Regions from separate parts of the Homo sapiens genome. Here regions 1, 2, 3 and 5 are each linked to region 4. The links are contacts of gene promoters, found by promoter capture Hi-C in blood cells and fetal thymus (Javierre and others, 2016). All regions are on one chromosome and are shown on one strand. Each heading gives the region's core, a stretch centred on a gene start or on the middle of the fragment in contact. The rest is flanking DNA. Distances are from core to core; before and after follow the strand shown.

The links. Contacts are between HindIII fragments. The CHiCAGO score rates a contact against its expected background, and 5 or more counts as called.
Region 1: a fragment that was not itself captured here is called in contact with the fragment with the promoter of PDLIM5 in region 4 in 1 of 17 cell types (fetal thymus); the score reaches 6.6 in fetal thymus.
Region 2: a contact is called between a fragment that was not itself captured here and the fragment with the promoter of PDLIM5 in region 4, in 1 of 17 cell types (fetal thymus). The highest score is 6.1, in fetal thymus.
Region 3: a fragment that was not itself captured here is called in contact with the fragment with the promoter of PDLIM5 in region 4 in 1 of 17 cell types (fetal thymus); the score reaches 11.7 in fetal thymus.
Region 5: a contact is called between a fragment that was not itself captured here and the fragment with the promoter of PDLIM5 in region 4, in 2 of 17 cell types (M2 macrophages and M1 macrophages). The highest score is 5.9, in M2 macrophages.

Annotation. Positions count from the first base shown.
Region 1 is chr4:95,152,255-95,157,713 of GRCh38, reverse strand. BMPR1B (bone morphogenetic protein receptor type 1B) reads right to left here. Exons shown (of 13, transcript NM_001203.3): 12 at 4,941-5,071; 13 at 1-3,166. The coding sequence ends at 3,041. Among named protein-coding and RNA genes, the nearest start is that of UNC5C, 390 kb to the left of the region's middle. The HindIII fragment of the contact is 1,070 bases long and covers 2,242-3,311 here.
Region 2 is chr4:95,113,438-95,118,962 of GRCh38, reverse strand. It overlaps BMPR1B (bone morphogenetic protein receptor type 1B), which reads right to left. Exons shown (of 13, transcript NM_001203.3): 5 at 4,141-4,243; 6 at 3,176-3,278. Among named protein-coding and RNA genes, the nearest start is that of BMPR1B, 360 kb to the right of the region's middle. The HindIII fragment of the contact is 5,000 bases long and covers 1-4,894 here.
Region 3 is chr4:95,089,347-95,094,450 of GRCh38, reverse strand. All of the region lies in intron 3 of BMPR1B (bone morphogenetic protein receptor type 1B), which reads right to left. Among named protein-coding and RNA genes, the nearest start is that of BMPR1B, 330 kb to the right of the region's middle. The HindIII fragment of the contact is 2,007 bases long and covers 802-2,808 here.
Region 4 is chr4:94,450,012-94,455,052 of GRCh38, reverse strand. PDLIM5 (PDZ and LIM domain 5) reads right to left here and starts at 3,111. Exons shown (of 13, transcript NM_006457.5): 1 at 3,058-3,111. RefSeq lists silencers at 2,612-2,871, 3,042-3,461. The HindIII fragment of the contact is 3,776 bases long and covers 1,962-5,041 here.
Region 5 is chr4:93,748,971-93,753,862 of GRCh38, reverse strand. All of the region lies in intron 14 of GRID2 (glutamate ionotropic receptor delta type subunit 2), which reads right to left. Among named protein-coding and RNA genes, the nearest start is that of ATOH1, 77 kb to the left of the region's middle. RefSeq lists an enhancer at 4,610-4,689. The HindIII fragment of the contact is 1,372 bases long and covers 658-2,029 here.

The sequences.
Region 1 (5,459 bases), core at 1,527-4,026, 700 kb before region 4:
CATCCATAATATCTTACTCTCTAATCCACATAATGGAGTTGTGCCAGACTCCAAACTGAACATAATATTTATATATACATATATATTTATATATATACACACATACATAAACTATAAACCTGAATATCTTAGCATACAAAACTTATCTAACAACTAATAATTTAGGATTCCTTTGAGAGGGAGGGGTTAGAAGAAACTCTTCTTAGTCTTTGAAATAGTCCTGACAGTAAGCAATAAACAACATTATTAATTTCTGGGTTCTCATTTATTCAAGTGAAAGACAAATAAAATAAAATTCACTTCTGAGCCACTAGAAATTTTGAAATCATAAAGGATTATTGGGAAATGAGTAGTCTTTAAGAACAATTTAGTGTTATCTAAGTAAAGTGGATTTTGGTAAGATACAGAGAAAAATCTATGCATAAATAAATTCTTGTTTCATTGAGCAACTATAATCGCTAAGTGGGTCTTTTTAAGTATCTCAGGAATGTTTTTAAAATATTAATAGTGAATAAATTAGATTGAGGATAGGACCAATCTTTTCCAAAGCAACCAAATATAATAAGGAAGAAGTTTGAAGACTATTTTAATTTCTTCCCATCCTTCATTGGAACCAACACCTCCCTAGAAATCTAGCTTAATTTCAAATCATCACCTCCTCACAAAATATTCTGATTTGACGTTATCCACGTTCAAGTATTTACCAAAAAGAAAACATAATTTTATCTACAAGGTAAGCCCAACCTCACTTAAATTTAGGAAAAACCCAAGAAACAAAAACATGACCCACTTAACTGGCATAAATGTTTACCTGTTGTTTTGTAGATGATCTGTTTAGAGGCACTGAAGTTTCTCTTCAAGGCTCAGATGATTAGTCACACTTAGTTCTAACCATATATTCCTTCTAGGCTATCCCTAAGAATATAACTGACACAAGAGAAAGGAACCTTTACATTATTATTGAGGTTATTTTTAATATCAATTGAAGCAGCGTTCTGATTACAGTTCTACTTGTTTTCTAACTGTTTTCACTCTTTAAAAACACAATTTTTTTTTTTTCAATTTCAAGGATTACGAAATTCTTCTGTCTTAGTTACAAACAAAATGCAGCTATGAAGCACTGGGAAGTAAATGCAAAATATAGAAAGAATCTTCATGATTCTCCCAAACTGTAAGCACAGCTCACAAAGTCTCATTGCTTTAGAATGTTTTCTGGATGAACAAGTTACCAGCTGCAAACCGACTTCAGAAGTGAGGAAAATGTTTTCTCATGTTTCATGTAGCTGTCAAATTTTCAAAAATCCTCCATCCTTCAATCACCCAGTGGGGAAAATGTGTTATAAAACACTGCCCCCTGGAGTATTCTGGGAGGAATGTCTTAAAAAAAAAAAAAAACAGCAAGGAGAAAGTACTTTCAAATTCTTTACTAACCACTAACAGAATTTCTAAGAAGCAAAAGAAAACCACAGAAAGGAAATGTATATGAATAAAGTTGAGCAGGATGTGTACAACTTTAAACTGTATTGTATTCATGTTGCTAAACAATATTGGCCTTCTCGATGATTTTATTCATGTTGCTCCAAAGTTAAAACCCTGTAGAACTAAGTAGGTGAAGAGATATTTTGTATAAGTGCCACAGAAGAGAAAATATAATAAATTAAATAGTGAATTGAGCATCACTAGAATAAAATAAAATGAGTAGGCATTCCTAAGATGTGAAATGATCACCTAAGATATACATGCTCCAACCATATTGATTTTAGAACAAAACACAGCAGCCCATAACAGTTTGTGGCCTCTACTAACTGTCCTCTGCTGTCCCATCTAGAGGTTATGTTTCTCTATTTTTAAAATAAAATGTAGTTAAATTAGCCTGACGGATGTTTCCTCTCTATCCCTTATCTCAGACACATACAAAACAGACAGACAATAACAAAAAGACATCATCTTTATCTGTACAAAATAAGGTATGCACACTTTTTTCTTTGTGCTTCTGAGATTGGCTCCTTTGCATATATAAGATACAAGCCATCTGCACGATCACCCTCATTTCCTATCTTTGTTGACATGTTCCTCTTACAACACAAGAGCAAATTACCTCTATTTGAAAGCACCCTGTCTTCAACACAGCTCATGACAATTTTATTTAATATTGATCCTTTGAATGAGAGATCAAAAGCATGCACAGGTCAATCCTCTGCACATTAAAAAAAAAAAAAAAAAAAAAAAAAAAAAAAAGCTTTCTTTGTGTTTAATGAAAAGGGTTTTACCATGAAAGAGATGCCTAACTCAATCAGAAACAGAAGTGGATCTGAAGAACACCTATCAACAATTACTTCTATTAGAGTCACATAAACCTTCATTTGTTCCATATTGCCTGAAGCTGCAAAAGGCCACCTGCAGGAATTCCAAATGTGGTCCTAGACAGGCGGTGTTTGTACCCAGTGCATTCACATTACCATAGCGGCCCCAAATGCAGGGATGGCCAAAGTGGTCTGAGGAGGCCAAGACGGGGTGGGGAGTATGTTTAAGATGAGTTCCGTTCTATGTCCTCCAACTTAGACTGTCTTTTGGTTCACAGAGTGCAACAATATTTTACCAATGGAAAAACAAGTATTTTAATTTACCTTCCAGCAGAGTTCCTGGGAAGAATTTTGTTGTTATTATTTAAACTATAATACTATAACCCTTAAACCATCCACATTATCTGTTTTATTTTGGCAAAATGAAAGCATCTTAAAAAAAAAAAAAGGCAATCACAAAATACAGGGCTTTCTTAGAAAGCAACATGCATCATATCTTGAACAAGTTACCCAAGCGGTTTCTCCGTCCTACAAACAGACATGGATCAATCTCTCCTTCTGGGAGCTTCTCTGTCTTTGCCCAGGTCGCTCCCTGAGAGGTGAGGTCTGAACCCACTGGGAAGCAGGACGATGTTCAAGGCTTGTACTGTGGATGCTTATTTGATGTCTTTTGCTCTGCCCACAAACAGAAGAGTACCTGTTGGCTTTCTGCAGAGATGCTTACTTTTCCTCTCCTATCAGAGTTTAATGTCCTGGGACTCTGACATTTTGGCAAGTGTTTTCTTAACCCGCAGGGCTGTCAGCCTTGATGCAGGATTGTGAGCCCAGCATTCTGTCATGAGTTTTCCCATCTGCCTTAGACACTGAGGAAGAGAAATGTTAGAAAAATGTATCATCTGCAAGGCTGGCACCTGTTACAATGTAGCTTTTTAGTTTTAGGTTCATTAAGTTTGAATATATTTTTAAAAGGTACCCTTAAAACCATGTAGAAGTAAAATTCTGTAAGCTTTTTTCATGCAAAATTATATATGACTAAAACAGATGTTCATGTCTTCTTTGTGATAGAAACAAGCAGGTGGTTCTGCTGATTGTAGAAAGGTGTCTTTGAAATTAGTGTTAAGCAAACATAAAAATACCCAGGGAGTCTGTATTCCACTCAATACTCCCAGATTGTTTATAACACTTGATAAGTTTTAATCTTTTATCTAATTCCATACTATGCAAACAAACACAGTTATTCCTAAATCATAGCTGTCTGCTGCAGTAATAGCATCACACTGCACCATTTAACAAGATTAATGACCTGTGCACAGCATCACTAAAACTTTCTCCTGTGGTACATCAATTATTGGTCTTCCTATTGAAAAGTACAATTTCACTTCATAAGAAATCCTCAGTGAAGAGATATCAAGTAACACCAAAAGCCCACAATAACAGAGCTCCAGCATCTCATAAAGCTTTCTGCACAGCTTGCTGGAAAACGTATATATTATTTAGCATTTTAGTAACCAGACACAAAACCAATGAGCCAAAGGTGTTTTTGTTTTTGTTGTTGTTTGTTTATTTGTTTTAAGACAGGGTCTCGGTCTGTCGAGTGCAGTGTCATGATCCTGGCTCATTGCAACCTCCGCCTTCCGGGTTCAAGCAATTCTCGTGCATCAATCTCCCGAGTAGGTGGGAATACAGGTGTGCACCAACACACTAGGCTATTGTTTGTATTTTTTAATAGAGATGGGTTTTCACTATATTGGCCAGGCTGGTCTCGAACTTCTGGACTCAAGTGATCCACCCGCCTCGGCCTGCCAAAGTGCCGGGATTACAGATGTGAGCCACAGTGCCCGGCCCAGAGATTATATTTAAATGGCTTTTACACTTCAGAAATAGTGCTCTGTCCCCCCTTTGCAGTGCTTTGGTACGTTTGATAAGAGCCTGTTTTTTTTTCCAGTGGTGCTTCAAACTCATCTTGAACATTCCAGTCTGCCAGAGAACTCTAGAACATGGTGAGTTTGAAGGCTGCGAGGGTGGAAGGAGAGGAATGTGGAACAGGAGGAGGAGTCAGGAAAGGCAAGACTCATTTCTTCCTTACTAGCCGCTGCTTTCCAGACCTATGTAGGTTTCACCACTACAGCCTTAGAGCCAAGCTGAAGGTGGATTTGTTCAAATCACATCTCGTCATCCTTATTAACAAAGACACCCAGCACAGTCAGGCATCTTAACTAGGTCAACCTGTATCACTTTAACATGCCTACTTTTTTTCTCTAATCAAAATGGGAGAATGCTGTACATGGGTTTGTCACAGAGAAAAATTATGATGCTTTAAAAACACACACAGAGAAATAATAGGTTTTATGCAAATGTCAAGACATTATAAATAAAGAAAATAATGTTATTTGTTATGCAGGCTAAACACTGACCAACTCACTCAATATATTCTGGAAGTGGCAAAATAAAATTGGAAAAGTAGAACAAGTAATTTAACATACTACACTTATCTTCATATAAATTACTGCAATGAGGCGCCATCACCATCACCATCAAAAAAAGAAGAATTCCTACAATCAATATGTGGAATTTTAGCTAAAAAAGAAAAGTCTATTTAGAAGTCTGTCACAGCCACATGGTTACCTCAAGCCTTACCTCATCACTGCTCCACCGGTTTGGGAATGAGGGGCGTAACTTCTTGATGCACACAATCTCCCTCATGTCCTCATAAGAGGGGTCACTGGGCACTAGGTCATGATAAGGAAGCTGGTATTCTTCCACTATACCTAAAAATATGTTGTTACTATTATTATTATTATTATTATTTTCTGTGAAGTAGAAATAAAAGTCTAACACAGTTCTCAAAGGAAAAGTGCTATCAGTATTACAGACAAGTTCAGGCAGAAAAATAGCAAAATAAATCTTGAAAAATATTTACCCAAATGGTACTTAATCTAATTTAGAAAAAATGAATACAAAGCCCAATGAAAAATATTGTCATAGGTCTTCAAGCCTTTCTTTCCTAATTTCCAAAAGCTAAGTAAAACAAGCATCTTAAATTTATTTCCATTTTTATGAAGAACAAATTAAAAGACAAATCTATATTAAATCTCAATGCAAATCTGCAAGACATATCCTGAACTCATACTACATGTGACTGTTTCTATTACTATA
Region 2 (5,525 bases), core at 1,145-3,644, 660 kb before region 4:
TGAGACCAGAAGGATCAAGGGATTCTTTCCTTTCCATCAAGCACTTTATTTAAGGCTAGCTTTACCTTCCCATTTGCCTTTTATTTGCCCCATAACCCTATCCCCGGCAGCCTCCTTGTCTTCTCTCATGAATAGGTGATCCTTATCAATAAACCTTTTGTTTCTGCTGGTCACGCTGGTCATGTTTTAATCTGCCATTACCTGTGCTCGGAGCACTAACAATGTAAACATTCAAGCCACAGCCAGAGTCTCAGAAAGTGAACAGTTCCAGATACCTATCAGGAAAAGAGCAGAGCCCACAGCTTTCAGCTCTCTCCAGGACAGCAGATTTCTACCTGCGCTGTCACTCCAACTGCTCTGGGAAGTAGAACTGAGAACTCCCGGGCGAAGTCTGGTTCACTCTGAGAGGCAAGTTAAGAATCACCAGTGGTTTCACAACAAAACTGCATTCTGTCACTACTATCACCTCTCCGATAATTAGCTTGTAACTGCTTAAAATGCCAGGACTGTTTTTATAAGACTAGAAGATGGTTCACAATTGCAATAAGAAATAGAAGAAAAAAATCATATAGCTAGAAAGTAAAATATCTAGTACAATTTCAATAAAAACTGTACATGTGTATATGGTAGAGTCAAAAAAAAAAAGCAGCAGCTCTGTGGTATAGCTATGTAAAAACATCAGTGCTCTCAGACTACAATCTGCAGTGACATTTACTTGACCCCAAAACAGCTGGCCCAAAAAGGTAAGAATCTGCAGAGACTTTGGAACTAGACACTACCTGAGTAGACTCTGCAGAGACCTTGCCTAGGCACTGGCAAAGCAGTGGAATCTGGAAAGACCTTGCCTAAGTACCACCTGAGATCCTCAGAGCTCAAAGCAGTGCATTCTAATGCTACTAAACCCCACCAAAGCCAGCCACCTTACGCAATGCTCAGTAGAGTCCACCAGCCACTCCTGCATCCTCATCTCCACACTGCCCTGGACCAAGAACTTGTCTTCTCATTGTTCCTACCCTCCTTTTCTAAGCCTTTTTACTCTGTCCTTTGGAGTTTTATTCTACTATTTTTCTAAATTCCTACATCCTCCTCAGATAATGCTCTCTCACCTTCACACTCCTAACTGGACTGAAATCTGGCCCCATCTCTCTTTTCTTATTTATTTAAAAAGATTTTTTTAGAAAGAGTGTCTCATTCTGCCACCCAGGCTGCAGTGCAGTGGCAGGACTGTAGCGCAATGTAATGTCGAACTTCCGGGCTCAAGTGATCCTCCCACCTTAGCCTCCCTAGTAGCTGCAACTACAGATGTATACCACCATGCCCAGATCATTAAAATTTTTTTTTTTTTAGAGATGGAGCCTTGCTATGTTGCCCAGGCTGGTCTTGAACTTCTGGGCCCAGGCGATCTTCCCACTTTGGTCTTCCAAACTGCTGAGATTACAGGTGTGAGCCACTGTGCCCAGCCCTCATCTCTCTTAATTATGGGATTTTTCTCCAACCAGTCATGCTGTTTCATACTCCTGTAGTTAGCAAATGGCTCTCCAATATTACAAACCAGACCTCTGCACTTAACTACTGCATCTGTTTAGAGTCACTGCTACTCATAGGCTATGCAAACTCAAAGTTAATAAACTTTCCGGTGCTGTGTTTTCCTTATCTTTAAAGTTGGAAGAACAATTCTATGTACTTCACAGGGCTGCTGTGAGGCTAAAATGGATTAATTAATGTACTTTTTAGCAGATTATGTGGCTAAAGTTAGCCATTTAAATTTTAAACTTTCTATATACTTAGCCTATCCTGCCTTATCCACTTAGCACACTCCTCTTCATCCTTAAAGTCTTGTTCAAGTATCACTTCTAGGAAGCTATTCTGACAACCTCCTCCCCCAGGTAGAGCCAGCCACTCACTCTATTATGTCCTTAATACACTTTATAATCTAACTCTACTAATGAGATATTTCTGAACAAATATAGTTATTGACACGGTGCTCTCTTACATTCTAATGTATACTTCTTGGGAGGAATAATTTTCTTCATTAATTTCTGTATTCCTAATACCTAGCATGTTGCCTGCCACAATTAAAAAAAAATGCTGGTGAGGCTTTGATGTGAATCATTATTAATCAATCTTGTATAGCTTTCTAGGCTAGAACAGGAACAAATGTTAAAACATTTGTCACAAAATTCTAGCTGGGTGTGGTGGTGTGCACCTGTTTCCCAGCTACTGGGGAGGCTGAGGTGGGAGGACTGCCTGAGCCCAGGAGGTGGAGGTTGCAATGAACTATGATGACACCATGCACTCCAGCCTGGGCAACAGAGCAAGACCCTGTCTCAAAAAAAAAAAAGAGAGAGAGAGAGAGAAAGCAAAACAAAGTCATGAAATTCCATTATGTTTTGTTGGAAAGATTTTTCTCTTCTCAAGAAATAAAATCAATCATGAAAAATCACTTTAAATCACTTAGATAAGATTTAGGACTTAAAACTCTGCAACAACAAAAAACCGTGTGTGTGTGTGTGTGTGTGTGTGTGTGTGTGTGTGTGTGTGCGCGCGCTGAAAGCATGGAGGAGGAGAAAGGGAACATGAGACCTGTTGCAAACAAAAGGTCTCTTGGGAGGCAATATCTTGGGAGGCAATATTTGTCATTTTAAAGGAACAACACTTAAATGGGTAAGTTTTGAAATTAAAACTTTTAGATACCTTCCCCATTTTATCAATATATTGATACGATTTGACTAAAAGGTGTTACTCTAGCATAAAAAAAGGAAATGCCATATAGCAAATAATGTTTAATTTAGCCCTTTATATGGTCTTTACTTTTAAAATAAATATAGACAAATGGTAGTTTTTGGGTGAACTACAACTTCTGAATAACTTTCAGGGAGAAGCAGAGTGCTAGCTCCTGCCTCCACCCTGAAATACACTACAAACTCTAGGAATAGCAATTTTCTGAACAGAAGTGGGAAAAAATAAAAATCATAAAAGTGAAGTCACATATGACTGTTTTCCCACAAACTACTTGCACATGTCTTCGAATGATGGTTCCATGTCATCTGGCCTCAGTGCTCTGCTCCAGCAGTGGAAAGTGGTACAGGTAGATTGAGAGAGAACGATTCTAGTTTTTAGTTTTTATTTTCATGATACCTAGTGATTTTCCAGGCTGGAAGCCTTCCTCACTTACCTCTGTTTTTCAATGGAGGCAGTGTAGGGTGTAGGTCTTTATTACATTCGTTCCTTTCTGTGCAGCATTCAATTGATCTTCTTTGATGAGGAATGGGAGTGTCCTATAATCGAACCCAAACAGCTATTAGTGAGTTTCTTCCAAATTTCAAAGTCAAATCATCTAAAACTTTAAAAATAGTCACTATTTAGAGAACTAATTTAAAATTCTAACAATTTCACTCAAACACCTTAAATATGTTCTCCTCTATAAGGTAATTTATTTCAAGCTACCATGTATTATCTTATTGCAACTTTTGCATTTCAACAAAATTACTACTACATTTCTAATAACTAGTGTGCATTGTATAAACTGAGGAAGAAGGCTTGGATTAATGCAACAAGCTAAATTGGATTTTGAGGAAGATGCTCTAATGCGACACTAAACAAGACGTTAACAGCAAAAATAAAAATAATATTTGATTTCAAAATGAAGGAAGAATTGGTCCAATGGAAAATTTCAGTTTTCTAAATTACAATCATGTGTCACTTAAAGACAGGGATATGTTGTGAGAAATGTGTTATGAGGTGATTCTGTCATTGTGAGAAGATCACAGAGTACACTTGCACAAACCTAGATGGTATAGCCTACTACACACATAGGCCAAAAGATAAAGCCTATTGTTCCTAGGGTAAAAATCCATACAGCATGTCACTGAACTTAATACTGTAGGCAATTAAGGCACAATAGTATCCATTTGTGTATCTAACCATAGAAAAGGTACAGTCAAAATATGGTGCTATAATATTATGGGACCACCATCCACTGTCATCATACATACCATCTGTTGCTGACCTAAATGTTTTTGTGCAGCTCATGACTATACTAAAAATGGGCTGGCCAAGAAAAAGAATGGTTTTATCTTGCTTGAAACTTGTTGGAAATCTAGCCAATGAAAGGTTACAGAATCAAGTTATCTACCTTACCCGACACTGAAAATCTGAGCCTTCTAGTCCTAGGCAACCAGAAGTGACCACAGGCAACCCAGAGTCATCCTCTTCTATCATCGTGAAACAATATCCGTCTGTGCTGAAGATCAAACAAGCAAAGTGAGAAACAGAATGTGTGTGTGTGAGTCAGTGTGTGTGTGTGTGTGTGTGTGTCTAGGGGAAAAGGAAATAAGTGATGTGTATCATTTGTTTTATTGCAACAAGGAGAATGTCAATGATCTGTTAAGAGAATCCAAAAACTTCCTTTTATGAAAATGGATTTAATAAACATAAAAACATTTTGTAATATCTCCTTTGTCCAGAAACTTGTGAAAAAGAAGGATCTAACATTTCCATATAATATACATCATTAATTACCATGAAAAACCATAGATACCAATTACTGAACACTTATTTTGGCCCTTCACAGATACTACTTTTCCAGACAAATCCAGACAAACTCTGTGAGGAAGGTAGCACTACTGTTGCTTTCTATATGAGGAAACTGAGGCTCAGGGGGCTTGAGTAACTTTCAAAAGTCTTACAGTTAGTGAGAAGGAGTGCAAGGGTGTGAATCCAGGCAGGTGACTGTTTATACTGTTCTTGCTCTGAGATAGTGAAATACACTTATTTCTTATTAAAGCACAAAAACTAAAGACAGGTAGGATTTGGGATCAGCATGGCATAACTGAGATTCTGACATTTAGTACCTCTGCTTCTGGGCTGTCCTGTCATATAAAGAAATTAAGCTTTGTTGTAAGAAGTATAGGCTTCATTTGGGGGTGGGGTAAAGATGGGCAACAGAAAGAAGGGTTCTTGATAAGACAGTGGAGAGGAAATAAAATTTTAAATTCTGTATGGTTTTCCAGATTAAAAATAACTTTCACTTATTCTACATCATTTAATCCTCTCAACAATAAGAAAAAGAAAGTATTATTATTCCTATCTTACAGATGAGGAAATTAAAATTATAAAAGTGTAGCAAACTTGTACAAGATCAAAGAACAAACAGTTATGGAACTGGGCCTTGAATCAAGGGCCTCTCACTTCACCATGTGTTTTCTGCTATGCCCTTTGGGACTAAAATAAAAAACACATCTGTTATATACAGAACTGTTTGTAAACAGACATTGATATCTTCACAACTTTGGGTGATGAATGCCAGCAGACTCTCAATATAAGTCATAAACCAGCACTGAATGTCTTAAGAAATAAAGTACTAAACTATATCTCTATCCTTTTCTCATATATATGCATGCTCAGCGTCCAAGACAGATATGGCAATGTAATCTTGAAAGGTCATGGGAATAAAGCTCTGAGAACGATACTAGCCATGATTTGTGGGTTTGTCTATTCTGTCTTAGTGGTAGCAGCATGCTGCT
Region 3 (5,104 bases), core at 556-3,055, 640 kb before region 4:
GTCTTCCTTTCCTTTTCTCCCCTATTATCTTTTCCCCTTCCTGGCTCTCCTCTTCCTCAATTCCTCTTTCTTTTGCTTCATTTTACTGCCTTTTACTTTTCCTTCCTTTCTAGATTAATCACGGTGAGCAAAGAGTCTATAAAAATATAAGGTTTTCAGCTTAAGAAACATACTGAAAGTTTGTTCAAGGATGACTAAAATATTCTTATTTTCTTTCATCTCTTGGTACATTGATTCATTTAGCAAATAATCATTAAATCCATTTACATAACACAATGACCCAGAGTACTTGACGGTGTCCTCAATAAAATAACAATCTTGCTTGTAAGACAAATCAGCTACACGTGGAACACTGTGAGACAAATCAACTACATATGGAAAGCCGAAATACATATAGGAAAACAATAAAAGAGATGTCACAATGCCACATAATTGCCAAATTAAGTCCTAGACAGGAGTGCATAAGAGGGAAGATTACTTTGTGTGTGGCAGTAATCAACCAGTATCTTTTATGGAAACCATAACCACCAAAACCAGGGATATTGCCAGTTTTTAATTTCAGCCACTCATGGTCAACACTAATGAGTAGGTTAAGAGACACACTAATTTTAAATATAACTGCTGGCTCTTTCTAGAAACCAGGGCTTCATAAAATATTTGTGAGTGTTTCTATTCACTGACATTGTTTCTCTTTTCACCATACTCACACATCGACATTACACATCACCCGGGTTATGATGGATAATCATGTTTTCAACATTTTCACATCAGAAAAACCCTGCCAAGAGACCTATAAAAGCTTCAATCACTCAAACATTTTATGTGATACCAGACTATGACATAAAAAAACATAAGAAGAGTAAATATGACATACAAGTCAACAGACAACACCAGACTATGACATAAAAAAATCATAAGAAGAGTAAATATGACATACAAGTCAACAGACAACACAAACATTTATATTCATTTGTTTTCCAGGTAATTGACATAGAATTATAAACCTCAGCAGACATAGAATTATAAACCTCAGCAGGAATAGTAATTATGATAGTAATAAAAATTCTTTGGACATCATAATTACACTCTTTAAATTTAAAACAATAGCTAGCCTTTCCCTTAGGTTTTACTCTGCTTTTGAATTTAGAGAAACTCAATCAAAATGTTTATATAAATTAAAAACCTTTGAAAAATCTCTAAAACACAACTTGTTTATAAGTATTTTTAATAAAAGCAACAATATAAGAACAAAATTAACTTGACAAGCAAGTAACCATGATTTAAAAATATGCAACATCAAACTGAAGCCACTGTCACAAAATAGCATAATCTCAGCCGATAGAATGATTAAAAATTAAAAATGACTTTGTATTTTAAAATATTTAATGTGTCAATTCAGCTCCACATTGTTAGAAAAGAAACTGAACCGTGGTCTCTTTGACAATAATGTCAGAGTCAACTAGAACTTGGCAGATTTCCAAGCCAGGAGCTATGGTTTTATTCAGCAGTTTCTATGAATGCTCTGCTTCACAGAGTTCCGAAGCTAATCAAAGTAGATGTTCAACTTGCCTCCACACCAAAAATTACTCTGCAGCTTTGCAAAGCACTCCCAAGACAGCCTAGTGTATAAAACTATTTTATAGATGCATATATGTAAAGGGAAGTGACAATGAAGTCAGACAAACCAGAAACCAAATCACCGTGTTTGTGCTATTCTTTTTCCCCAAAGAAAAAACCTGGAAAACATTTAGAACCTCTCTGCTCCTAATCCTTACCATACCCTCTAATAGGAAAACTGTTAAAGGTAACCTTAGCTATTACTGACTTTAAAATATTCAAATATATTGCTAGTTCAAATATTTAAATATTTGAGGTATAAAATATAGTATATATATTTCAAGCTAAACACTATTATCAACTATTATCATCACCAATGAGTTTAAAGGTCTATCTCTGGTGAAACAATATGGAATAATGATCACCAGGAATAAAATGAATAAGAATGCAATGTAAACATTAGAAAGCCATCATAGTTTTAAGAGAACAAACTGTAAACCAAAGAAAACTGTTTAAAATCTGCAGTGCCACCCATGTGCTTTTACACTTATCTGTTGTGCGTCACAGAAAAATTTTCTAAGATAGCTACCAAAAATGATATGAATTACTAAAATATACTTGCCCTCACTTCTCCAAATGTACACTTTATCATGCCAAAACAATTTATATCCTTCCTGGTAAAAAATAAATATCTTAGCAACTATATTTTTGAAACATTCATTTGATCTAACATCTAAATCATTACATTTATACTTTAAAGAATCATTTTGCATTTTTTAAAACTCATACTTGCAAGAAAGAAACCTAGACCTTTATAACCTATGAATTTAGAAGTGTATAGTTGATACATTAATAGTAAAAGAATTCACAACATCAAAAACTATAAAAAATTTAACCACAAGACCTTTATACAACCACAACACTTGATTTTAACCTTGACAGTGTTGAAAATGTGTAGGGGCAAACACGCACTCACACATAACACAAAAGTTAAAATAATACATATAAGAACATCATTAATTTAAAAGTAAGCTAAATTATACACTACCAGAAGAGTTCGGCTACATGGTATTTTCTTGCCATGTAATTTTTTTAGACAAAATTTTTGATCCCCTTGAATTAGTCTATTTCACCATCTATGCCAAAAAAGGCTAAGTTCTAACAGCTTTTATTGTGCCAGAATTGGCTTTACTCATCTTGCTTACATTTTTTGGAGGGAAAAAAAAAACAGTCTCTGTGAGATATAAAGCTTCTCCCACTACTCACTTTTGATTTCTGTACGCTTGATATATGGTTGCCAGGCTCCCTAGGATGAGAGACATGAGGAGGAGGCACAGAATTGCTAGGGGTTTCCACTAAAAAGCCCAGCACCGTAGGCAGCACTAATCCTGCACCTGTGATATGTTATTCAGCAGTTAAGAAATGCAGCCCAGACTGTGGTTGCCTAATACAGCTCAGCTGTTTTTCTCAGTAGTCCCTTTGATTATAAGCTGGCAAGAGACATTATTCCGGTCAAGCAATGAGCTATGTTCAGGACCCATGGCATATGACAGTGGAAAGGTAAAAAAGAAAAGAAACCTAGGAGTCAAAAACAAAACAAAACAAAACAAAACAAAAAAAAAAGAAAAGAAAAAAAGAAAGAAAAGAAAAAGGAAAAAGAATGAAAAAAATGTCACTGACCACAGTGTGTTATGTAACATTTCCAGATGGTTAAAAGCTACCTCTGCGTCTATGCAAGGCAGAAAAATATCTAGAATTCATCATTTAAATATCTAGAAATCTATCTTTATAATATCCTTTGACATTCAGAATGCTATTTCAATATGCAATGTCTTAAGTTTATCTTAAGAGAATCTCAATTTCACAAACCAATCAACTACACAAACATTTAGAAATCTTTCATTAAAGAGGTTTACCTTTACTAAATGTCAAATTCCTTTTAAAATTTGGAAAATTTCAAAATGTTTGGAAAACTGAAGACCAAATGAATACCATTATTTCTATCTTTTTATTAAATCTACCATATCATTTGACTTGATTCATTAAAAATTTGATATAAAATTTATATTTGAGACACAGCTATCCTATTCATCATATATGGTTAAAACAGAATGAAATATTTATTAGAGTCAAGTTAAAGCCTCTAACTAGTCCATATTGATTTAAGAGATATTTGTCATACACAAATATTAAGAAATATTTACCATACACAAATATTTCAAAGTGCTGTAAGCACTTTGGGCTCAAAGAGTTGAAGAAGAAATGGCCACTATGTTCATGAACCTTAAAATCTATTTGGAGAGTGTGGCATAAAAGTTGTCAATTTTGTTGTTGTTCTTTTGTCATAAAAGGTCTGCTGATTGTTCACTCACACCAAAGGTTCACTCTATTTCCTTTTATACTATAGATAAACATAAAATCATGTTCCTCCAAGCTAGTATCTGTGCCACTTTAAACAAATGACCTGAAATCTTATCCAAAAAACAGATACCTTTGCCTAACAGCAGATGGTTAAAAACAAACCAAAAAATTCCTTTACAAAAAGAGCTGAAATGAAGAAAATATATCAATTCAAAATGTAAATATAATTTTTATAAAATGTAACTATAATTTAAATATATATATTAAAGAACATGTTAAACATTTTAAGTTATTTTTTATTGCTGTTTATATACTAATTCCCTACTAGCCAAAAAGTATATTAAAAATTTTGTTAGAAAAAAATATGCATAGGATATGTATTAAAATCAATAGGGTCAACAAAAATTCCTGTGTACATGAGAACATTCTCTCTCAACAGAATTTGACAAACCTTATAGTTTTCCCTTGTATTCAAACACCTGGGTTAGAATACTGCATTTCAATTTCCGAGTAACACCCTGAGGCCGAATGAAAGAAGAATGGTATTCAAGAAGTGTGCTGTAAGATGTTTTACTAGTATTCCCCTAATTCTACCATTAGTCTATATCCAAAGTAAAATAAGACAGTTGAATTGGAACCTGGATATATGTAAGTCTAGAGTTCATAGAGTTTTGATAATTTATGATAAATCTTTTTTCTTGAAATTATACTTAATAGGCTGAAATACTGAACCACCATCTACTTTGCTTTGATTTGTAGGAAGAAGACTGCCAAAGGACAATCTTGTTGAATTCTGGGCAGAAACACTAAGGAGAGATCTGAATTGAAACTATGTTATTATAATAATTGTGTTATCTTCAATCTGGGCATGGCACACACAGGAACATTCTGGCCTGATGCTGCTCAAGCTCTCCCTCTTTGGATAAATAAATGGCTTCAGTTTTCAAAACATTCTCCTAAAGCACTTTTATATTCTTATTTTTTAAATTGTATAACACCCAGTATACCTCAGTGGTCCCAGTCTTTAAAAGCCTTGTTAATTTTACCTGTAAATTTTCTTTCTTTATATTCTTTTATCGAATTCATATCTTCTCATTTATGCCAGTAATGTTCTCACCCATAAACTCTACCCTAAGGTCAAAATGTTTCCTTCCTCCTCTTTTAAATAACTGTCAATATGGGCTCT
Region 4 (5,041 bases), core at 1,862-4,361:
GTCTAAAAATTCCATATCAGAATACATTTCTAGACACTTAGTATGTTTCACAACTTGCTTCAATCCAATTTTGTGGCTTCTTGCATGCAAAGTTTAACTCAAAGTACTTTACAATACTTCACTAATGTAGCAAGATTTTATTTCAGGTTGAATTCAGAATAATTTTCTCCTTCCCTCCACTTCATGTATTCTTTTGTCTGCAATTGACAAGAGTCTTTCAACTGCACTTACTTAAATTCTAAGTTACTCTAACATGTGAAAGAGACTGCAAATCAGTAGGCTCCCATTCATGCTTTCCAAATACTAAATTCTTTACAATGAGAAGCTGTTTTTCAATGCACAAAACTATTCTCTCCAATCATGAACTACAACTTGTATTTCCTCCTATGGGGACATGGTATTTTCCACACTTAAAGTGATATCTACTTTTCCTTCAGATAGTCAACGATAGGCAATACTCTAGTACAGTGATGTTAGTCACAACCTGCTTTTTGTTTTATACACACACCTCACCAGGCAGAGAGTAAGCATTTGCCACTCAGTGAATAAGATTATGACTAAATACAGCAAAAGTGCTGGGTTAATGCATTCAAATGGAATTGGCAGTTTAGAAAAGAACCAGTGCTTCGGTGCTTTCTTTTGTCTGTTCTGCTGTTAAGTGTGCGTGTGATGACTCTCCTAGTAGTACTTTCATATAATTTTTAAAAAGCAAAAAAAAAAAAAAAAACTTCGAGTTTCCTATTGGTTGTTATAACGGCAGGAGACAGAGGAATGAAGTTTTCTTTTGTTTTAATGGAATACTAAGAAACAATAATTCTCTCTCTTTAAAAAATATTAAAAACATAACAGATATGTAATTTTATATTAAAAACATACTTCCTTGGAAAATGTAAGCTATTCAACCAAATCACCACCTAATATTACCTGTCTTAAAATATGTTTTAACCCATTCAAAATTTCTAGCCCATCACCCCAAATTCATAGTTGCAGATATAGATATTTGAGCCATAGGTATATTTAAAGCAAACATTCCTTCTTCTCATAAAGGGAAAATGGGGCAAAACATTCAAATAAGCCTGGTTTTTAAAGAAAAATTATATCAGGGAAAATAAAAATTACAGAAAATTGTATCAGAAACCGAAACAGCTTTTCTACTGGCGTGGTAGTATACTGAACTACAAGGCAATAACACATTACTTCAGTAATGAAGTAATAGGCACAGAGCACTAAAAAAGATCCAAAGGCCAAGCCGGAAGTCAAACTGTATATATAGGTGAAAAACTACTAGTGGGAAGCTAATAACGAGCCACACATAATTCAATTGCTTTCCCGCTATAAAAGGAGGAGATTTTCAGAAAACTAATAGAAGGACTGTCCTGATATTGACACGATACAAATCAGAATCGTGTAAAGCCAACTGATATTTCACAGGCAGCCTGCCCTCCTTTATTAATCTTTAACTTGTGTCTGGGGAATAATATGAAAGTTGGGCTCAACTTCCTCTGGCCCCATTCTTCCCTACAAGAAAATGTATTTCATTTAGATTATCAACCCATGTACTTGCAACTTCCCTTTACTTGGGGATTCCCTTCCTAACTTCTCTCATTTGTTATTAAAATTCCTAGCACTGGCAAGGTCACAGCCACACTACAAAACCAGTGTCATTTCATTTCTAGTCACTGTCCGTTCATTTCTAGATGCTTCTTCTGCTAGCTTCATTTGGAATTCATCTGCCTTAAAACAGTCTCTGCCCCAAGCAATGGCAATATTTTTATTGGCCTTTCCAAGACTCCTCCATCTGGTTATTAGTGCCCAAGCCCTTCCTCAAATACCAAGCAGGCAGGAAATAGCAGCATACTCTTTCAAACACGTCGAAAAGGTTGGAATTTCTGTAGAGTTATGGATTTTCTTTTAGGGAAAGTCTAAACAATGTCTTTGCTCTAGTACTAGGGAAGGAAGCTTGGTATTTCCCACACTTGTATCTCAGCTTCATTAGTGGGTGAGAGGGGAGAAAGGAGAACTCAAGATGAACTACACAGAGTGACAAAAAAAAAGGCCTGAAATTAAAGAGAAATATCTTGAGATTCTCTTTCCCCGCAATGGAGAGAGAATGTAGGTAGAGCTGAAGAACTAAAGCCACAGGCACAGGATGAAAGCAGCCGACAGGACAGTTTTCCAGGAGGGATTCGCGCCTAGCCTTGTTGGCCAAATAAGGCTACCGAACGGGCCGTTTCCGTGGCAGGCGGGTTCAGACGTCCTCCCCGTCAGGAAGGCGGACTTGGGATAGGATCTGGCGATCACACCCTAAATCTGCCCTGCCCAGCGCCGCCACGAATTTTCCTTCCAAGCTCTGCCCTGTCCACACGCCCTTCCTTTTTCCACTTATTGTAAAACGCACCGAAGGCACAGTCTTACAAAAGCCCCAACAAGTACTCAAGTGTTAACAAATCTCGTGTTCATGACAAATGTGTTTCTTAAACGAGCTTTATTTCTGGACGCGCAGAAGTTTTCCCCAAACAGGTTACACAAAACTGTAAATATCTGGGGGAGAAATAAATGCTTCTCAGTAGCCTGGGAGCAAAGAAAAACTAACGCGCCTTTTCCTTTGAGTCCCGCTTCCTACCCTCCAAGAGACTGGCGCAGGACTGGGCACTCAGACACCACACCACGGTGGTGCCGGGCGACGCCGGCAGCCGGGTGGGTGGGAGCGGCAGTGCCCGTCCCTGCCGGCCCTCGCCACCTCCGGGCGCCCTCCCGCGTCCCCGTCTCCGCTACGCTGGTCCCGGTCGGCCCGGGCTGCGGGGACCCCAGGGCTCGCCCTCTGGCCTCATGCGGACTCCAGCGCTGCCCTTTTCCGGGCGCTCCTTTTCCCAAGCTGCTCTCCCACCTCCGCCGCTCCGCGCCCAGAAAGCACCTGAGGAGCCATCCCTGCCCGAGGAGCGCCCCCTCCTCGTCCCCAACCGGGCTTCCCTTCTCGCGTTCGGCGCACAGCGGCCGGTTCTTTCCCTTCTCCCACCGGAGATCCGAGAGGCGCATCGCCGGCCGGCCGCCACTCACCTCGGGTCCGGCGCGGCGCGGGGCTGCCTCCGCCTCAGACAAGGGCTGACAAGTGACTCGCGGTGAGGGCGCCGTCCCCACCGCCCGCGGGAACTTCCGCCTCCTGGCTCTCCCTCGCCCCACCCCCGACCCAGGACACGCCCCTCCGCTCCCGGCCACGCCTCTGGGCCAGTCCCAGCCGCGCCGCGCAGGGGCGGGGAAGGTGGCGGCGGCGCCGGGCGCTCGGGCTTGCTGGGGCTGGCTGAAGCAGCTGCGGAAAGACAACTGCGCTACCGAGTTTCGGTGGGAGTAGTCTTAGCGGATTTTGAGCGCTACCTGGCAAAGGTCTAACCCTCCGCTCGTCCGTTTTGTAGTGGGTGCATTTTTCTCTCCAGAAATTTAAATTGGCAAGCAGTTGCTCTGCCTAAAAATAGAAGGGTACTTTGGATAAATCTCTATCTATGCAAGTTCAGCGGTTACTGCCTGCGTTTTTTTTTTTGAAAGAGCTTTACATGCTCTGAAAAGTGCAGACCCAGAAGTTTACCTGTCAGGAAGGTGAAAACCAGTAACCCTAACAGAAGTTAACCCTGTCCATCACACCAGAAGACAGTGATACATAAAAGCGGCCAAAAGTGATTCAACCACTGTATCTTCAGTTTATTTTTCTAAATCCAAATCAATAGTCCACTTTCCAGCCTTCTATAGGGTTGCTTGATACGCCCGAGGAATTTATTCATAAGAAAACGTGAATAATGTTCACTGAACATACGGAAAGTAACTAGACTGTTACACTGTGAATTGGCTTATAAAACGTGAAAAGGACAATTCTTAACCAAGGAGCATATAAAGCAAGGATGAACTTCATGAGGTCCGTGAGCTCCCCGGCCCCCAGAAGTGCAAGCAAAATTCCAAAGGCGAAGATCCAAAGCTGCTCTTTCCCTAACGGTAGCCACTGGCCACATGTGGCTATCGAACAGTTGAAATGTGGCTACTGTAACTGAGACCATGAATTTTTTGTTTTACGTAATTTTAAATAATTTAACATTTAAAACTGAAGCAGGATAACATTTCTTTACTTTTTTTTTCTTTGAGACGGATTCTTGCTCTGTCTCCCAGGCTGGGATCAGTGGTGCAATCTCGGCTCACTGCAACCTCCACCTCCCGGGTTCAAGCGATTCCCCTGCCTCAGCCTCCTGAGTAGCTGGGATTACAGGCGTGCGCCACCACGCCCGGCTAATTTTTTGTATTTTTAGTAGAGATGGGGTTTCACCATGTTGGCCAGCCTGATCTCGAACTCCTGACCTCAGGTGACCAACCCGCCTCGGCCCCGCAAAGTGCTGGGATTACGGGCATGAGCCACCGCGCCAGGTCGTTAACATTTCTTTTAAGCACTACATTTAAGGACTAAAGTTGAAAATATAATGCCCAAATTGAAATGCGTTGGAAGTGTAAAATGCACACTGGATTTCGACGACTTGGTATGAAAAAATAATGTAAAATGCCTCAATAATTTTTATATTGATTATATGCTGAAATCATCATATTTTATGTTTTGTTAAATGATACATGATTATGGCCGGGCGCGACGGCTCACGCCTATAATCCCAGCACTTTGGGAGGCTGAAGCGGGTGGGTCACCTGAGGTCAGTAGTTCAAGATCAGCCTGGCCAACATGGCGAAACCCCGTCTCTACTAAAAATACAAAAATTAGCCGGGTGTGGTGGCGCATGCCTGTTATCCCAGCTACTTGGGAGGCTGAGGCAGGAGAATCACTTGAACCCGGGAGGTAGAGGTTGCAGTGAGCCGAGACCATGCCACTGCCCTCCAGCCTGGGCGACAGAGCAAGACTCCGCACCAAAAAAAAAAGAGTAATAATAATAATATTTGATTAAAATTAATTTCACTTTTTAAAAAAAATGTGGCCACTAGATAATTTAAAATTACTTACGTGAGCAGGGTGCAGTGGCTGACACCTATAATCCTAGCACTTGGGAGGCTGAGGTGA
Region 5 (4,892 bases), core at 94-2,593, 700 kb after region 4:
AAATTACAGCTCAGTGAGTCTTGATGCTGGCCCAAAGGGCTCTCAAGATTCCCCAGGGACTTTCATATATTGGCACTATTCACGATAGCAAAGACTTGGAACCAACCCAAATGTCCATCAATGATAGACTGGATTAAGAAAATGTGGCACATGTACACCATGGAATACTATGCAGCCATAAAAAGGATAAGTTCATGTCCTTTGTAGGGACATGGATGAAGCTGGAAACCGTCATTCTGAGCAAACTATCGCAAGGACAGAAAACCAAACACCGCATGTTCTCACTCATAGGTGGGAACTGAACAATGAAAACACTTGGACACAGGGTGGGGAACATCACACACTGGGGCCTGTCATGGGGTAGGGGGAGGAGGGAGGGATAGCACTAGAAGATATACCTAATACAAATGACGAGTTAATGGGTGCAGCACACCAACATGGCACATGTATAAATAAGTAACAAACCTGCACGTTGGGCACATGTGCCCTAGAACTTAAAGTATAATAATAATAATAAAAAGAATTTTTCTAAGATGCATAACAAGATAAGCTGGTACTGGGGAGAACATCTCAGAGTATGGAAGAAAGAGAAGAGTGGACATTACAACCTAATGTTACTAATCCTAGCCTGAGAACTTTGGGTAGAGTTCTTAAGCTTCTAAATAAATATTTTTTAAACATTTGGATTCCACTTTCTTTTAGCTCTGGGTGAAGGCTGCCTGTAGGCATGTAGATAGGAGGTGTAGCAAACAGCATTCAAGAAGATCATATCTAACAATCTGATGGTAGGGTCAGTTTAGTCTCGGCATCCCTCTGAGAATCAGTGATAACTATTTATTTTCTCTCCCTTCTTGTCCTACCCCCAGGCCATTCTTATCACTTCCACTTATGATAAGTCAGGGTATGATCCATATAGAAAACTAACGGTTCCAAAGACTCCAAAAGCATAACACTGATATACCAGGTGTTGAGTGAGCACAAAATAAATGGACAATATGGATTTTACCTGCAAAACAATGTGCAAGTACACAGATAGATGGAAGGATACACATAATAAATAATTTATGACCAAAGAGAAGTCAAAGAATGATAATGAGGTGTGGATAAGGTTTAGGAAATTTTAAGCAGGGAAAATAATTAAAGGACTGAGATTTTTGGAAAAGGAGAATGTAATAGTTAAGAGTATGAGTATTGGCCAGGCGCGGTGGCTCATGCCTGTAATCCCAGCACTTTGGGAGGCCGAGGTGGGCAGATGATGAGGTCAGGAGATCGCGACCATCCTGGCTAACACAGTGAAACCCTGTCTCTACTAAACGTACAAAATATTAGCCGGGCGTGGTGGCAGGTGCCTGTAGTCCCAGCTACTCAGGAGGCTGAGGCAGGAGAAGGGTGTGAACCCGGGAGGCGGAGCTTGCAGTGAGCCAAGATTGCACCAGGGCACTCCAGCCTGGATGACAGAGCAAGACTGTGTCTCAAAATAAATAAATAAATAAATAAATAAAAGAACAGTATGAGTATTAGTTAGGAAAACGTGGGTGAAATTCTGTTATCATTACTTCCTGACTATGTACTGGCAAGATAACATGATCCCTCTGAGCTTCAGTTTTCCTAATCCCTGGAATGGAATATTTATCTTAAATTGTATTGTATATGCAAAGTGTTCACCACATTATGTGGTATATATTAAGTTCTCCATACCAGGCAGCTATTGTTATAATCATTATAAAGACTAATGTGGTACAGCCACAGTAATACAGTGGAGTCCATTTGCAATAGGTTTTCAGTTTTTCCTTTTAGAACCAAACATTGACATGAACAATGTATAAGTCCAAACACAGTGCTGCCTAAGGTCAAGTGCCCATTCTGATACTCTAGCCAAAAAAAAAAAAAGAATGTTCAGGTGTGCAATGGCCTGAATGTGTCCTCCCCAAAATCATAGCATGCAGTATTGGGAGTATGGGTAAGAAAGCAGGCAGTTGTGGAAAGCCTAGGAAAATAAGGAGGCGGCAAGGAATGACAGCATGAAGCTTTTAGGAGGGCAAGCCGGGTTACAGGCCTTGAGAAGACAGTGGGGACAGCCTCAATTTCAGTATCACCCTTTAGCACATTCTTAACCGTGTTTTCGCTAACCTCTCACTGACCTGGGTTTAGTTTGAGGGACAGAATGTGATTTGGGGTGAGGACACTTTCATTTCAATACAGCTAGCTCACTCTCCAGATCTCCTGTCAAGTTGAGACAGAGGATGCCACGGAAGGCCCTGTCACTGTACAGCAAATTCACAGCTGCACAGGAAGCAACACAGTAAATCATTGTCCTTCTCATGAAGGCTGCAATCAATAATGCCACAGGAGCATTTCCCCCCAAGAACCAGAAACTGCCTGGAACTGTGGGAGACCCATTGCAATACTGAGAATTTGATGTGGAAAAATGAGAGGAATAAAAGAGTTCACTCACCAAGAAGAAAAACAGGTGAAAAGCAACACCAATTAACTTTAATTATAGAGTCTCATTCTCACCCTAGGGGAATTCATATATTCAGATGCCAGCTACAGATCAACAAAGAGCAAATGGATAGATCTGTTGTTATTTATGAGAATCTGACTCCTAGACTTTTCATGAGATCAAATTTGAAATTTTATACTTGGCAAAAGAAACAAGGTTGTTAACAGACATGAAGAATTCACAATAGTTAATGATCCTATTGTCAGTGATATTAAAAATTCACTTTTATTGATAATGTCAGTGCATTTTCATTTATATAAGCTTCTGGGAATTTAAGAAGAATGACCCTAGCCTAGGTATAAACTGGCCTTGGAAATTGCAGTGAGAGATATTGTAGCATAATGGACCCTCAGTTTAATTCACCTCTAGTTATCCCTGTAAAACATGTTACAACTCTTCCAACTTTCTCCACATTTCCCAAACCTTGAACTGTATTTTCACCTGTTTGATTCTTAGCAGAAGATAATATTTCATCCTTATTGAGAAGATCACTGGCTAGGAACTAACTCATCTCTTTTAAGTGACACCACTCTTTCTTCCTTCTATCCTAACTCTTATAAAATGTGTCTCGATGCCTGGTCAAGACCACCTTTTTGTTTTTTTTGAGACGGAGTCTTGTGCTGTCACCCAGTCTGGAGTGTAGTGGCGCGATCCCAGCTCACTGCAAGCTCTGCCTCCCGGGTTCACGCCATTCTCCTGCCTCAGCCTCCCGAGTAGCTGAGACTACAGGGGCCTGCCACCATGCCCTGCTAATTTTTTGTATTTTTAGTAGAGACCGGGTTTCACATGGTCTTGATCTCCTGACCTTGTGATCCACTCACCTTGGCCTCCCAAAGTGCTGGGATTACAGACGTGAGCCACCGCGCCTGGCCAAGACCACCTTTTAACAGAAAGCCTTTTATTTCCAATTGTACGTGACTATTCTAGGGATTTCCTACTGGGTGATCATTGGAATCACTTGAATTTCCTTGGCTACAAGTCAGAGATTCTTATTTACTATTTTTGGGTTGGTGTCTGGGAATCTATATTTTTAAACAGCACTTTCCCAAGGGGATTCTGATACTAAAGCAGGTTTGGAGAAACCACTAATTGATCCATCTTTTGAACTTTCCTTGGAAGTTTTCTTATAATTTTGTGCTTTGTTCCAACACTAAAGTAATGTGTTTTATCTCTTTGAAAGGATTACAAGCTCCTTAGGCCAGGTAATGGTGTCTTATAGATTTTGTGTGTTCTGTAGCACCAACTACAGTTGTTTGCACAGAGGATGCGTTCGATCAATTTGCTGAATAAAAAGCAAAGCTCAAGAAAGGGAACTATATAATGTGTGCTCACCAATGGCAGTAGTAGTCATGATAGTTAACATGTCTCACATTTATTGAGCACCTATCTCTTCACCTGCATTGTTCACTCTGTAGCAATTCAGTTATATAATTCTCGAAATCACCCTGTGAGGTAGTTACTGACTTTATCTCCATTTTTCTATATTTAGAAACTCAGGCATAAGGGAGTGAAGTAATTTGTGTTAGCTTAAACAACCAAAGACTTTTTTGTTTTGTTTTGTTTTTGGCTAAGAGATGGAGAGCAAAAAGCATTGTGAGGGTTTCTTAAAGAATCATTACTTAGCTCTGTAGAGGGGGATGACGCCACTTTGGCAAAAGTGGTCAAAGAAAGTGTCATAGCGGAGGTGGCTATTTGACTAAGGCTTTATGTTTATAACATGTAGAGAGTGGGTGTATGAGCATTTCAGGAGAGGGCATGGTATGAATAGCATGGTGGTAGACTAACAGCCTCGGTTTGCCTCTCTGGTCCTTTGTCAGCTGGAGGAGGCTCAATGCCACTTTCTCCCTCCTGTATATGTTTGAATCAAAGAGTGAAAAAGGGGCAATGAGTGGCAGGCCAGCTCTATGAAGCACAGAAGCTATGATTGTTTTCCTGTCAGTCACTGAACTTTCACTTTCCCCTTGAAGAGTCATCCCAGCAACACTTCTGTCTCCTTCCTCATCAATGCCTTATTTTGTAAACAATCATTTCCCTATATCTTGCAACTTTTATAAACTGTCTTTTAATTCAGTCATTCCTCTAAAAGCCCTTGTGTCATAAAGGAAATGAGGACATTTTGAACAATACCTAAGGGCAAATTTAAACTAACAAAATAAAACAAAACTTACATGTTTTTAAAAATCCCCTAACCTCTGCATATTCTCTCTTCTTCTTTCCCGCACCTCAGCCACCCATGCATGCATTTGCTCACACACAGTGAAGGAGGAATAAAGCAGGGATCCCCACCCCCACCCACTTTTGCTAACTTACTAATGCAATGAAGAAAATCATCAAGACAAAGTCAGTAGTTTGAGCTGAGGCCAAATGATGTGACTGTAGTGGAAGAATA